Regions from separate parts of the Homo sapiens genome. Here region 2 is linked to region 1. Evidence: promoter capture Hi-C in 16 types of primary human blood cells and fetal thymus (Javierre and others, 2016). All regions are on one chromosome and are shown on one strand. The core of a region is centred on a gene start or on the middle of the fragment in contact, and the rest is flanking DNA. Distances in the headings are between cores, read along the strand shown.

The links. The method cuts DNA at HindIII sites, captures the fragments that hold promoters and counts their contacts. A CHiCAGO score of 5 or more calls a contact.
Region 2: the fragment with the promoter of MBD1 here is called in contact with the fragment with the promoter of HAUS1 in region 1 in 1 of 17 cell types (non-activated CD4 T cells); the score reaches 5.5 in non-activated CD4 T cells.

Annotation. Positions count from the first base shown.
Region 1 is chr18:46,101,025-46,107,294 of GRCh38, reverse strand. HAUS1 (HAUS augmin like complex subunit 1) reads right to left here and starts at 2,910. Exons shown (of 9, transcript NM_138443.4): 1 at 2,854-2,910; 2 at 1,927-2,101. The coding sequence starts at 2,883. It also overlaps a transcript of ATP5F1A not described here. RefSeq lists an enhancer at 2,506-2,595 and a silencer at 2,986-3,085. The HindIII fragment of the contact is 1,925 bases long and covers 2,396-4,320 here.
Region 2 is chr18:50,278,686-50,284,955 of GRCh38, reverse strand. It overlaps MBD1 (methyl-CpG binding domain protein 1), which reads left to right and starts at 3,433. Exons shown (of 17, transcript NM_015846.4): 1 at 3,433-3,593; 2 at 4,939-5,073. The coding sequence starts at 4,964. CXXC1 (CXXC finger protein 1) reads left to right here. Exons shown (of 15, transcript NM_014593.4): 8 at 117-224; 9 at 394-578; 10 at 855-1,062; 11 at 1,141-1,251; 12 at 1,392-1,441; 13 at 1,595-1,691; 14 at 1,950-2,102; 15 at 2,217-2,609. The coding sequence ends at 2,363. RefSeq lists enhancers at 2,194-2,774, 2,775-3,355 and silencers at 3,501-3,610, 3,621-3,700. The HindIII fragment of the contact is 20,722 bases long and covers 1-6,270 here.

The DNA.
Region 1 (6,270 bases), core at 1,661-4,160:
CAAGTCCCTTTCTCTGCACTGTATTTTAATAATTACAAAAATAAAATCATTTAAAAATAAGACAATTTTAAAAGCACATATATGGGAGAATATGGCTATAAAGGAGTGGCACAGGGGAGGTTTTTGGGGTGATGGAACTGTTCTGCATCTTGATTGTGTGATTTCAGATTGTGAGAGTGGTTCTACACTCTAAGTGTATTAAAATGGTACACAAAAATAAAAAGTCAATTTTACTGTATGTTAATTTTTAATTAATTAATTAATTAATTTTTTTTTGTTGTTGAGAGAGTCTCACTCTGTTGCCCAGGCTGGAGTGCAGTGGTGTGATATCTGCTCACTTCAGCCTCCACCTCCCGGGTTCAAGAATTTCTCCCGCCTCAGCCTCCCAAGTAGCTGGGATTACAGGCACATACCACCACACCTGGCTAATTTTTGTATTTTTAGTAGAGACGGGGTTTTACCATCTTGGCCAGGCTTGTCTCAAACTCCTGGTCTCAAGTGATCCGCCCACCTTGGCCTCCCAAAGTGCTGGGATTACAGGCGTGAGCCACTGCACCTGGCCCTGCTGTATATTAACTTTTAAAAGAAAACTGGAAAAAAGCACATATGCAATAGAATCAAATATAAACTGCACTATATTCAAAATATCATATGTAACAAATACCATACATCTGATTAAATATAGGGCAAATGCAGGCCTCACTTCCTCTCTTTGGTGTATTCTCGTATCTAAAAAGATTTTTGTCAATCTTTACTTTTGTGGTTTGTATTATCAAAACAATAGGCATCTTGAATGCACTTTTTCTTTTTTTCTTTTTTTTTTTTTGAGACGGAGTCTTGCTCTGTCGCCCAGGCTGGAGTGCAGTGGTGCGATCTCGGCTCACTGCAAGCTCCGCCTCCTGGGATCACGCCATTCTCCGGCCTCAGCCTTCCGAGCAGCTGGAACTACAGGCGCCCGCCACCACGCCCGGCTAATTTTTGTATTTTTAGTAGAGACGGTGTTTCACCGTGTTAGCCAGGATGGTCTTGATCTCCTGACCTTGTGATCCGCCCGCCTCGGCCTCCCAAAGTGCTGGGATTACAGGCGTAAGCCACCGTGCCCGGCCTTGAATGCACTTTTTCAAACTATATATGCCCAGCAGAAAATTCTAATGCAATCTCCTGATACGTAGTCATAGAGTAATTTCGTCCAAGTCTCACATTTCATGGCCACCACCTCAGGTGTCCTGATAGGTCCGTATGACTAAATCATGGAGACCGGAAACAGAAAAAACAGATAGGTAAGTAAAAAACCACAAGGCATCTTGTGTGTCAGACTAACAAGTTTAGACTCTTTTAAGGCTTACTGTTTTGCTATCAGAGTACCAATAAGATATTTAGTATAATAACATTTATTACTTAGAGAATTACTACTGGCCAGGCAGGGTGGCTCATGCCTCTAATCCTACCACTTTGGGAGGCTGAGGCAGGCGGATCACCTGAAGTCAGGAGTTCGAGACCAGCCTGGCCAATATTGTGAAACCCTGTCTTTACTAAAACACAAAAATTAGCCGGGTGTGGTGGTGCAGGCCTGTAGTCCCAGCTACTTGGGAGGCTGAGGCATGAGAATCACTTGAACCCAGGAGATGGAGGTTGCAGTGAGCTGAGATCACACCACTGCACTCCAGCCTGGGCGACAGAGCAAGATTGTCTAAAATATATACACACACACACACACACACACACACACACACACACACACACATACATATACATATATATAAACATAAAACAATAAAGTTACTACTATAACAGAGTGGAAGAAAATCTGGGAAAAATAAAGGAGCAAAACAAGTAGTCTACAGTAAATTAATCCTGTATACTTTAGTGTTATAAAATTTGGTTACCTCTATTTATTCTCGTTCAAAACTCTGGACTTAATCTCACCTTCTGACTCGTATTCACTTGCTTTCTGCTTCAAGTCCTCTATTACCAGGTAGACATCCCTGTCCCGGACCCTGTTGCGTTCTGAAAGGTGATGTAAAATCTCTGTGGTCCGTGGGTTCACCTCATACTGTGGAATAGGATGATCTCCAAATATTTTTTTTAACCACGCAGCAACCTAACCATTAAAAGAAAGACAAATATTATAAGCCTTGTTTACTGTAATGGCTCGATGAGAATATGACAAAGAAGTGATCAAAAGCAAACTAAATGCTTTCTGTGACTATTTTGGAGTCCTACTTCACAACCTCACTTGTCTTTAGGGAGATACTAGATATCAGGAAATAAAAAGTGAGCAAGTACACAAAGAAACGTACAATACTGAAAATTACCAGAGAACAATCCGTTCTTTTCCAAATCTGCAAAAGCGGTACAGGCTAACAATTTGCCTCGCTTGAAAAACCTTAAAGCTTAATAGACCATAATAATGCGAACGCATTATTAGACCGTGCATGGTCTGAAAAAAGCAATTGTCCCTCGATCACCAGAAGCCCCGCCGCGCCGGGAGGCTCCCAGTGTTGGGATGCAGGGCGCGGAAGCAGTTCAGATGTGGAAGCCGCCGGGCTGAGCAGCGAACCGGAAGGCGGGTTTGGCTTCATAAGTCCCACTCCAGAGTCTGTGGACACGGGCTGCTCAACGCCTCTCCCGGGCCAGATCCAAACAAGGGGAGGCCCGGGCAGGAAGGGAAAGGCCTTCAGGAGAGTCTAAGCACGGGGGGCTTGCAGATAGTGACGGCGGCACTAAAAGACGGATGTGTGGAATAGGGGAGAGAAAAGTAGACGTGGCGCGCACAGGAGACCCGCTGTCGGCGCGGGGGTGTCAAAAACGCGTTTTCCAGGAGGCCAACGATCCCCATTCCCGCCCCATCACCTGCGTTTCTCTCTCCTCCTGCGGCTCCATAGCTGCGGCTCCCGCCACTTTACTAGGAACTCCTAGCGGGAGATGCGCCCCGCTCACTCCCTAGGCCCCGCCCACACGCCGTTGGCACCCGCCCCTCGCCGGGCCCGGGATTTCTGGGAGTTGTGGTTTTACCTGAGACTCCTGGCCGTTGAGCCCCTGTGCAAGGCTGGTCGAAGGCTCTGGCATTGCAAGCCTCGCTTCGTTGCCACTTCCCAGCTCTTCCCGCCTTCCGCGGTATAATCAACACTACGAGAGATAGAGCCGCCTAGAACCAGGTTGTTTTTTCTTTCTTTTATTTTTATTTCTTGTTTGAATCACTTGTCGTTAAAAAAAAGTACTTGAAACGTTTGGTTCTTGCTTAGCAAGATGTTTGTGTTTCTTCCACATTGATTGCATCCACTCAGAATTTATATTCTACCCTGGCAATATGAGCTGAGGCAATCTTAACTTGATCCGTTAGTTCCCCCAACCTAAAAACTAGGGACATTTTTTTTTTTTGAGACAGAGTCTCGCTTTGTCGCCCAGGCTGGAGTGCAGTGGCATGATCTCGGCTCACTGCAACCTCTGCCTCCTGGGTTCAAGCGATTCTTCTGTCTCAGCCTCCCAAGTAGCTGGGACTACGGGCAAGCGCCACCACGCCTGGCTAATTTTTGTGTTTTTAGTAGAGACGGGGTTTCACCATATTGGCCAGGCTGGTCTCGAACTCCTAACCTCATGATCCGCCCACCTCGGCCTCCCAAAGTGCTGGGATTACAGGCGTGAGCCAGCGCGCCCAGCTTTTTTTTTTTTTTTTTTTTTTTTGAGATGGAGTCTCTGTTGTTCAGGCTGGAGGGCAGTGGCACGATCTCGGCTCTCGGCTCTCAGCTCACTGCCACCTCTGCTTCCCGGGTTCAAGCGATTCTCCTGCCTCAGCCTTCCGAGTAGCTGGGATTACAGGTGTGCATCACCACGCCCAGCTAATTTTTTGTATCTTAGTAAAGATGGGATCTCATCAGGTTGGCCAGCTTGGTCTCGAACTCCTGACTTCAGGTGATCCGCCCGCCTTGGCCTCCCAAAGTGCTGGGATTACAGGCACTGCGCCCGACCTTTTCTTTTCTTTTTGAGATGGAGTGTTTCTCTGTCGCTTAGGCTGGAGTGCAGAGTGACATGATCTTGGCTCACTGCGACCTCCAACCCCCGTCCCCAGGCTCAAGCAATTCTCCTGTCTCATCCTCTCTAGTAGCTGGGATTACAGGCTTGTGCTAGCATGCAGGGATAATTTTTTTATTTTTAGTAGAACGGGGGGTTTCACCACGTTGATCAGGCTGGTCTCAAACTCCTGACCTCAAGTGATCTGCCTGCCTCGGCCTCTCAAAGAGCTAGGATTACAGGTGTGAGCCAACACACCCAGCCTAAAATGATTTTCTTTTCAAAGGAAACTTACTAGCAAGCCAAGCTTATTTATTATTTATTTTATTTTATTTTTAGAGACAGGGTCTTGCTCTTTCGTCCAAGCTGGAGTATAGTGGTGATCACAGTTCACTGCAACCTTGAACTCCTGGGCTCAAGCAATCCTCCCGCTTCAGCCTCCTTAGTAGCTGGGACTATAGGCGTGCACCACCACACCCAGCTAACTTTTTGTATTTTTTGTAGAAAGAGGGTCTCACTATGTTGCCCAGGCTGTTTTTGAACTCCTGGCCCCAAGTGATGCTCCCACTTGGGCCTCTCAAAGTGCTGGGATTACAAGCATGAGGCACCACACCCAGCCTGTCTTGCTTATTCTTTTTGCTTCAAACATATCTCTGCTCTGGCTGGATGCGGTGCCTCACACCTATATTCTCAGCACTTTGGGAGGCCGAGGCAGGTGGATCACCTGAGGTCCGGAGTTCAAGACCAGCCTGACCAACATGGCAAAACCCCATCTCTACTAAAAATACAAAAATTAGCCAGGCATGGTGGCACGTGCCTGTAATCCCAGCCACTTGGGAGGCTGAGGCAAGAGAATCACTTGAACCCTGGAGGCAGAGTTTGCAGTGAGCTGAGATTGAGACACTGCACTCCAGCCTGGGCGACAGAGTGAGAATCCACCACAAAAAACAAAAAAAAACAAAAACTAAATATATCTCTGCTCTGTAACCAAATTTCAGATAAACTGGTGCAGCCCTTCAGTATGGGGCAAAAAAAGTTATCTTTATGTCTTTTGTCCACTTTTATCACTACAAATTTTACAAAATATCCCTGCAATTTTTTTTTTTTTTTGAGAGGGAGTCTTGTGCTGTTGCCTAGGCTGGAGTGCAGTTGAGCAATCTCGGCTTACTGCAAGCTCCGCCTCCCGGGTTCACGCCATTCTCCTGCCTCAGCCTCCCGAGTAGCTGGGACTACAGGTGCCCGCCACCACACCCGGCTAATTTTTTGTACTTTTAGTAGAGACAGGGTTTCACCATGTTAGCCAGGATGGTCTCGATCTCCTGACCTCGTGATCCGCCCACCTCAGCCTCCCAACGTGCTGGGATTACAGGCATGAGCCACCATGCCCGGCCTTTTTTTTTTTTTCAGACAGAATCTCACTGTGTTGCCCAAGCTGGAGTGCAGTGGTCACTGCAACCTCCATCTCCCAGGTTTAAGTGATTCTCGTGCCTCAGCCTCCTAAATAGCTGGGATTACAGGCATGTGCCACCATGCCCAGCTAAAGATGGGGCAGGGGGTGCAGGGATCTCGATATGTTGGCCAGACTCATCTTGAACTCCTGACTTCAAGTGATCAACCTGCTTCAGCCTCCCAAAGTGCTGGGATTACAGGTGTGAGCCACCATGCCGGCTAATTTTGTTGTTATTGTTGTTGTTGTTTTGAGATAGTCTCACTCCTGTCGCGCATACTGAAGTGCAGAGGCGCAATCTTGGCTCACTGCAACCTCCACCTGGCTCACTGCAACCTTCACCTCCTGGATTCAAGCGATTCTCCTTCCTCAGCCTCCTGAGTAGCTGGGGTTACAGGTGTGCACCACCACCCCCAGCTAATTTTTGATTTTTTAGTAGAGACGGGGTTTTGCCATGTTGGCCAGGCTGGTCTTGAACTCCTGACCTCAGGCGATCTGCCTGCCTTGGCCTCCCAATGTGCTAGGATTACATGCGTGAGCCACCATGCCCGGCCTTGTTGTTTTTAGAAACGATATTTTTTCCTGTTAGCTTGTGAAAGTTGATTGGGTCATTCTTGTCATCCCCAACTAAAACAGTGTCAAGAGGTAAAGGGAAAAAAAAGCACTCAGGGCACATAACATTGCTCCAAAAATGTAATTATCTGTAAGCCTGGCTGCTGAAACTGCCCGCTATAACCTAAACCAGTTTTTTTGTTTGTTTGTTTTGAGATGGAGTCTCACTCTGTCGCCCAGGCTGGAATGCAATGGCATGA
Region 2 (6,270 bases), core at 2,184-4,683, 4.2 Mb before region 1:
AGCAGAGAGTATCCCTAATGAGGAGACAGAGGGTATGGAAGGCTGATATGGGACATGAGTAGGTGGTGGGGTTGTCACGAGCGGGGCAGGTGGGTCAGTGCATGCCCTGCTTGCAGCCCTGGATGAGCGACACAGAAGAGTCCCCATTCCTGGACCCCGCGCTGCGGAAGAGGGCAGTGAAAGTGAAGCATGTGAAGCGTCGGGAGAAGAAGTCTGAGAAGAAGGTGATGGAGAGGGTAAAGTGGATGTGGAAAGGCAGAGGGTGGGGTTGAGGGAGAGGCAGAGGTCAGAGGCTGAATGGGGCAAGAGCCAGAAAGGGCTAGAATGGAGCAAGGGTCTGGGGTCTGGGGCTGACTTTGACTCCACCCTGACCTGACTTGTCTTGCTCAACAGAAGGAGGAGCGATACAAGCGGCATCGGCAGAAGCAGAAGCACAAGGATAAATGGAAACACCCAGAGAGGGCTGATGCCAAGGACCCTGCGTCACTGCCCCAGTGCCTGGGGCCCGGCTGTGTGCGCCCCGCCCAGCCCAGCTCCAAGTATTGCTCAGATGACTGTGGCATGAAGCTGGCAGCCAAGTGAGTCATTCCTGAGAGGTTCAAGGGAGTCAGGAAGTGCATGGTAGGGCCTGACCACAGCCTTCTGTATGTCTACCAGTCAATCAGCTATCCACCAGTCACCAAACAGCCACTACCCACTCACCCATCCACCTACCCACCCACCTGCCCGTGTGTCCATCCAGCCACCATTCCGCCAGTCACCTATTTACTTCTCCTTTTGCCATTTGCGTCTATTTTGCCATTCTCACTTACTGATCACCTCACTCATTCTGTTGCTTGCTACCTTCCCTGCAGCCGCATCTACGAGATCCTCCCCCAGCGCATCCAGCAGTGGCAGCAGAGCCCTTGCATTGCTGAAGAGCACGGCAAGAAGCTGCTCGAACGCATTCGCCGAGAGCAGCAGAGTGCCCGCACTCGCCTTCAGGAAATGGAACGCCGATTCCATGAGCTTGAGGCCATCATTCTACGTGCCAAGCAGCAGGCTGTGCGCGAGGATGAGGAGGTGAGCAAGCAGGGGCGCAGCAGAGCAGGGCCTGTACTTTGTCCTTCCCAGCCTTATTGTTCCTTCCATTCCATGCAGAGCAACGAGGGTGACAGTGATGACACAGACCTGCAGATCTTCTGTGTTTCCTGTGGGCACCCCATCAACCCACGTGTTGCCTTGCGCCACATGGAGCGCTGCTACGCCAAGGTTGGGGTGTCAGACTGAGGGGGCGGACCATGTGGGAACATCAGTGGGCCAGTGGGGGACAGATTTGTTGTCTGGGTGGTGTCTTGGGAGGGCATGCAGCGCACATCCACAGTTCCCTCCATTTGTGCTCATCCCTCCAGTATGAGAGCCAGACGTCCTTTGGGTCCATGTACCCCACACGCATTGAAGGGTAAGTGAGGGTGCCACGCAGTGAGAGGTGGGGGGTTAAGGCGGGGGTCAGAAGTGGGATGTGTGTGGAGCTGGGGCAGGATACGGGCAACCAGCCAGGACAGATGGACCTCCCTTCCCTCCCTCTACTGCCCTCTCTACTCCAAATCCCCAGGGCCACACGACTCTTCTGTGATGTGTATAATCCTCAGAGCAAAACATACTGTAAGCGGCTCCAGGTGCTGTGCCCCGAGCACTCACGGGACCCCAAAGTAAGGTTTTCCCTCAGCTCCTCCCATTTTGCCCCTCCTCCCTGCCTCGCTGTCCCACATTCATCCCTTCCTTCCTCACCTCACTTTTCCTTCACTTTTTCCTCTCAGCTTCCCTGCTGCTTCACCCTCCATTCCTCCTTTTCCATGCCTCCTCACCGTTCCCTGAACCCTCCATTCTTTTCCTTCTCCCTCCTTGAGCCCCCATTCCTATTCTCCCTTATCACCGCTATTCATCCCCCCAACCTGGCCTCCTTGCAGGTGCCAGCTGACGAGGTATGCGGGTGCCCCCTTGTACGTGATGTCTTTGAGCTCACGGGTGACTTCTGCCGCCTGCCCAAGCGCCAGTGCAATCGCCATTACTGCTGGGAGAAGCTGCGGCGTGCGGAAGTGGACTTGGAGCGCGTGCGTGTGGTAGGTTTCTGTGCGGTTTTGGTGCTGCATGTGGTAGGTTTCCATGTCGGACGTGGCCGGGGCAGGCGGGGCTGCAGGTGTTCCTGCTTAGGACTCCTGCCGCTCCCTTGGCAGTGGTACAAGCTGGACGAGCTGTTTGAGCAGGAGCGCAATGTGCGCACAGCCATGACAAACCGCGCGGGATTGCTGGCCCTGATGCTGCACCAGACGATCCAGCACGATCCCCTCACTACCGACCTGCGCTCCAGTGCCGACCGCTGAGCCTCCTGGCCCGGACCCCTTACACCCTGCATTCCAGATGGGGGAGCCGCCCGGTGCCCGTGTGTCCGTTCCTCCACTCATCTGTTTCTCCGGTTCTCCCTGTGCCCATCCACCGGTTGACCGCCCATCTGCCTTTATCAGAGGGACTGTCCCCGTCGACATGTTCAGTGCCTGGTGGGGCTGCGGAGTCCACTCATCCTTGCCTCCTCTCCCTGGGTTTTGTTAATAAAATTTTGAAGAAACCAAGGAAGCTGTCTCCACATTGCTGCGGTTGCAACTGTTCCAGACTTCTGGATAAGATGGGGGGCGCCTGCACCCCGCGAGAGCCCAGGGACCCACATTCCCAGCCTCCCACGGGCAGAGGGTCTACGCAGCGCGCCTTCAGTGTGGTGACACCGCCCATGCATGCTCCTGTCTCCCACCCAGAGCTGTCGTCCGCTGTGGACGCCAGGCCCCGCCTTTTCCCCACAAGCCCCACGTTGGGGATCCGCCTCCTGCAGGGGCGCGCCCTCCCGCGTGCCTCAGTTTACCTGCGGTGTGGCACCGCCCCTTTCCCCGCCCCGCGCGCTCCCACAGCTGTTCGGCGGGGAGGAGGGAGCGGGACACGACCCCCCCTGGGGTTGATGTTCGGAGGGACCCACGAACACAGGATAGACCCCAGCGAGAGGTGGGAGAGGAGAGCGCCGGCAGGGCCAGGGAGTGCGCAGGCGCGAAGCAGCTTCCTTGCCGCGTTCGGTATCGGCTGTGGAGACCGCGGGAGGGAAGGGAGGGCGCAGGCGCAAGCCCTCCCCGACCGCTTCCCTTCAGGTTGAGGCTGGAAAGCGCATGCGCCAGCTAGATGGGCAGCGAGGAGAGCCGCAACTGCCAGTCCCTCGAAGGGGTTAGCTGTCGTTGAACGTCAGCACGCAGATGCAACTGGCTCTCGGCAGGGGGGCGCGCGCACCGCTGCGGAGCGCCGGCCCGTAGGCGCGGGAGCCTCCCTATTAAGGGCACGCGACATCGAGGCAATAGTGCGCAGGTGCTTAGCCAGAGGCGGAGCCCGAGAGGCAGGCAGCGGACTTCCGGTTCCGGGAGCAACGAACAGCCGCGGAGGCGACAGCTACCGCTTCAGAGGAGGCGGCCGCGGAGGAGGAGGAAGGGGAGGAGGGCGAGGCGGGAGGTGCAGGAGGGACCCTCGCCATGGGTCCACGGGCCTAGAGTGGCGGAAGATACCGGCCTGGTGCCAAACTGGTGAGACAGCCTTGGGGCTGGACGTGGAGAGCGCTCAGGCGGAGGATGGGAAGGAATTGTGGCTCAGAACGCTGACGGGGAGGAATGAAGGGCCCTCAGGCCGATAAGGGGGAGGAATGGCGGCGTCGGAATACTGACGAGGAGAAATGGGGGGATTTAGGCTGAGGACGGGAAGGAATGCAGCTCTGAACTCTGACAGGTAGGAGTGTCGGGATCCTGGGACGAGGACGGAGAGGAATGGTGGAGATCAGAACGCTAAAGGGAGACATCGGGGCATCTGAAGTTGAGAGAGAAATGGGGGTTCAGAACTCTGAGAGGGAGAAATGAGGGGCCCTCAGGCTGATGACAGGAGAAATAGAGGCTTTGGAATGCTGAAAGGGAGGAATAGGAGGCCCCATATAGAGGACGAGGAGCAGTAGGGGATCAGAATGGTGACAGTTAGGGATGGCATGATCCCGGGACAAGAACAGAGAGAATGGAGGAGGGTTCGGAATGCTGAGGGGAGAAATTAGGGTCTCTCTGGATGATAAGGGAGGAATGGAGGATGAGAACAGTAAGGAGGAGAAGTGGGGAACTTTTTGGCTGTAGAGGAAGGTTTGGGAGCTCAGACTAGGGAGAAATTGTGGGTGAGAACATTGAAGGAGAAGAAAAATAAGGGGGGAGGTCTTGGGCTGAGGAAGGGGAGGCATGGGAGGCTTCCAGTGTGAGGAATGGAAAAGATGAGGGGCTGTTCAGGCTATGGGTTGGAGCAGTTGTGTCTCGCAGAGGAAGTCGAGGTTGTAACACTGAGGTAGCAGGATAAGAGGACATCAGGCAGAGAAGGAATGGAGTGGTTAAAACACTGAAGGAGGGAAATTAGGAACTCCTGGGTCAAGGAAGGGGGGAATGAGAGACTACTGAAGTCAAGTAGTGAGGGCAAGAGAAATGGGGCCCTTTGGGGCTGAGGATGGGGACTATGGGGGTCTTGGGGTGATAAAATAGAGGGATAGAGGCCCTTAGGTCAGTGACAGGGAGGAATGAGGGGGAAGGATGAAAAGTTTCTGGATTGGCAGTGAGGAGAAATGATGGGTTGTCAGTCTGAGGATAGAGAGGAGTAGGGGATTAGGACACTGAGAATAAGAAACAGGGATCCTTGGGTTGAGGAATGATGATATCCTAGGCCCAGAATAGGAAAGAATGGGGTGAGAATATGAGGGGTTTCTTTTCCATATATGGGCTGGTTGCCTGTGGCAGGTCCTAGGGCTTGGGCAAGCACTAATGGATACCAGTGATTTGTGTGGCCTGGGGCACAGTGTTGTCCCTTCCTAGAGCCTCAGTTTCCCTCATCCCTTCCACCCCCTTTCAGGCTACTGCTGCTTCCTGTGGCCTCCATGGCTGAGGACTGGCTGGACTGCCCGGCCCTGGGCCCTGGCTGGAAGCGCCGCGAAGTCTTTCGCAAGTCAGGGGCCACCTGTGGACGCTCAGACACCTATTACCAGAGGTACTGGGTGGGTAGTGGGCAGAGTCAGGAGTGGGGTAGAGCCTGATTCTGGTAAAATCAAATGGTGTGGTTAAATTTATGGATGAAGTTTAAATTATGCACATACAGTTAATCCTTATTAGCGGATTTTATGTTTGAATTTCACCTACTTAATAAAATTTATTTGTAACTTAAAAGTCACTACTCACAGTGCATTTGTGATTATTCAAGAATACGTACAGAGCAGTGAAAAACTGTCACTCAATGCATGTATTTCTAGCTGAGGCTGAAGGAGCCCTTTTCAGCTTTAATACTGTAAACAGGTGTCCTTTTCGTGGTCTGTTTAGTGTCACATTTTTCTAATTTTTGTACTTTTTGGTGATTTTGCTTTTTAAAATGGTCCCCAAGCATAGTGCTGAGGTGCTGTTTAGTGTTCTGTGAGAAGACTATGTCGTGCTTTATGGAGAAAATACAAGGCAGATAAACTTTGCTGGTTATCTGAGTTACAATGCTGTTGGCTGTAAGTTCAATGTTATGCATCAGAATTATGGTACAACCAGAAAAAGAAGGAAATTTGCCAATATGTGCACAAAGCTGCTTCAGAAAGTACAGAAAGCATTTATAGTCTTGAAGCTATGTAAGAGATGAGAAAGCAGCTACATTGGTGGGTTCATGAAATGACGATCAATAAAGCATAGTTGACAGCATTGTTGAGGAAAGCCAAAGTCATGTTACCCTGGGTTAGGAAAATATTAAGGTTATATCAGCTAGTGCTGGCTGACTTGCACATTTCAAAAGGCGACATGGCATGAAACATGTTAAACCTGCATGCAATGCAGGTTCTGCTGATCAGGAGTCTTCCGAAGAATTTTAAAAATACCTGTTAAGTGTTGTACAGGAAAGGGGTTGTGTGGAAGAGTGGTTTTCAATGTCAATGAGATTGGCTTGTTAAACAAGAATATTGGCAAAAAACCTTACATAACACATACGGCCTCCAAGTCCCCTGGTTTGAGTCATTCAAAGACCATGCAAATAATCATTTGTAAAAAAAAATATGTATTAAGTAATGTGTGTTTAAACAGAAACACACACAAAACAAAAGTTCAGATGCTCTCAGGAACCTAACCCTGTATTTCTTCTAGGAGCAATGGTTTTGTATTCAATGTTCATGATAGCTTTGTAGAACGTAACTACCATAACTAATGAGAGTCAACATAG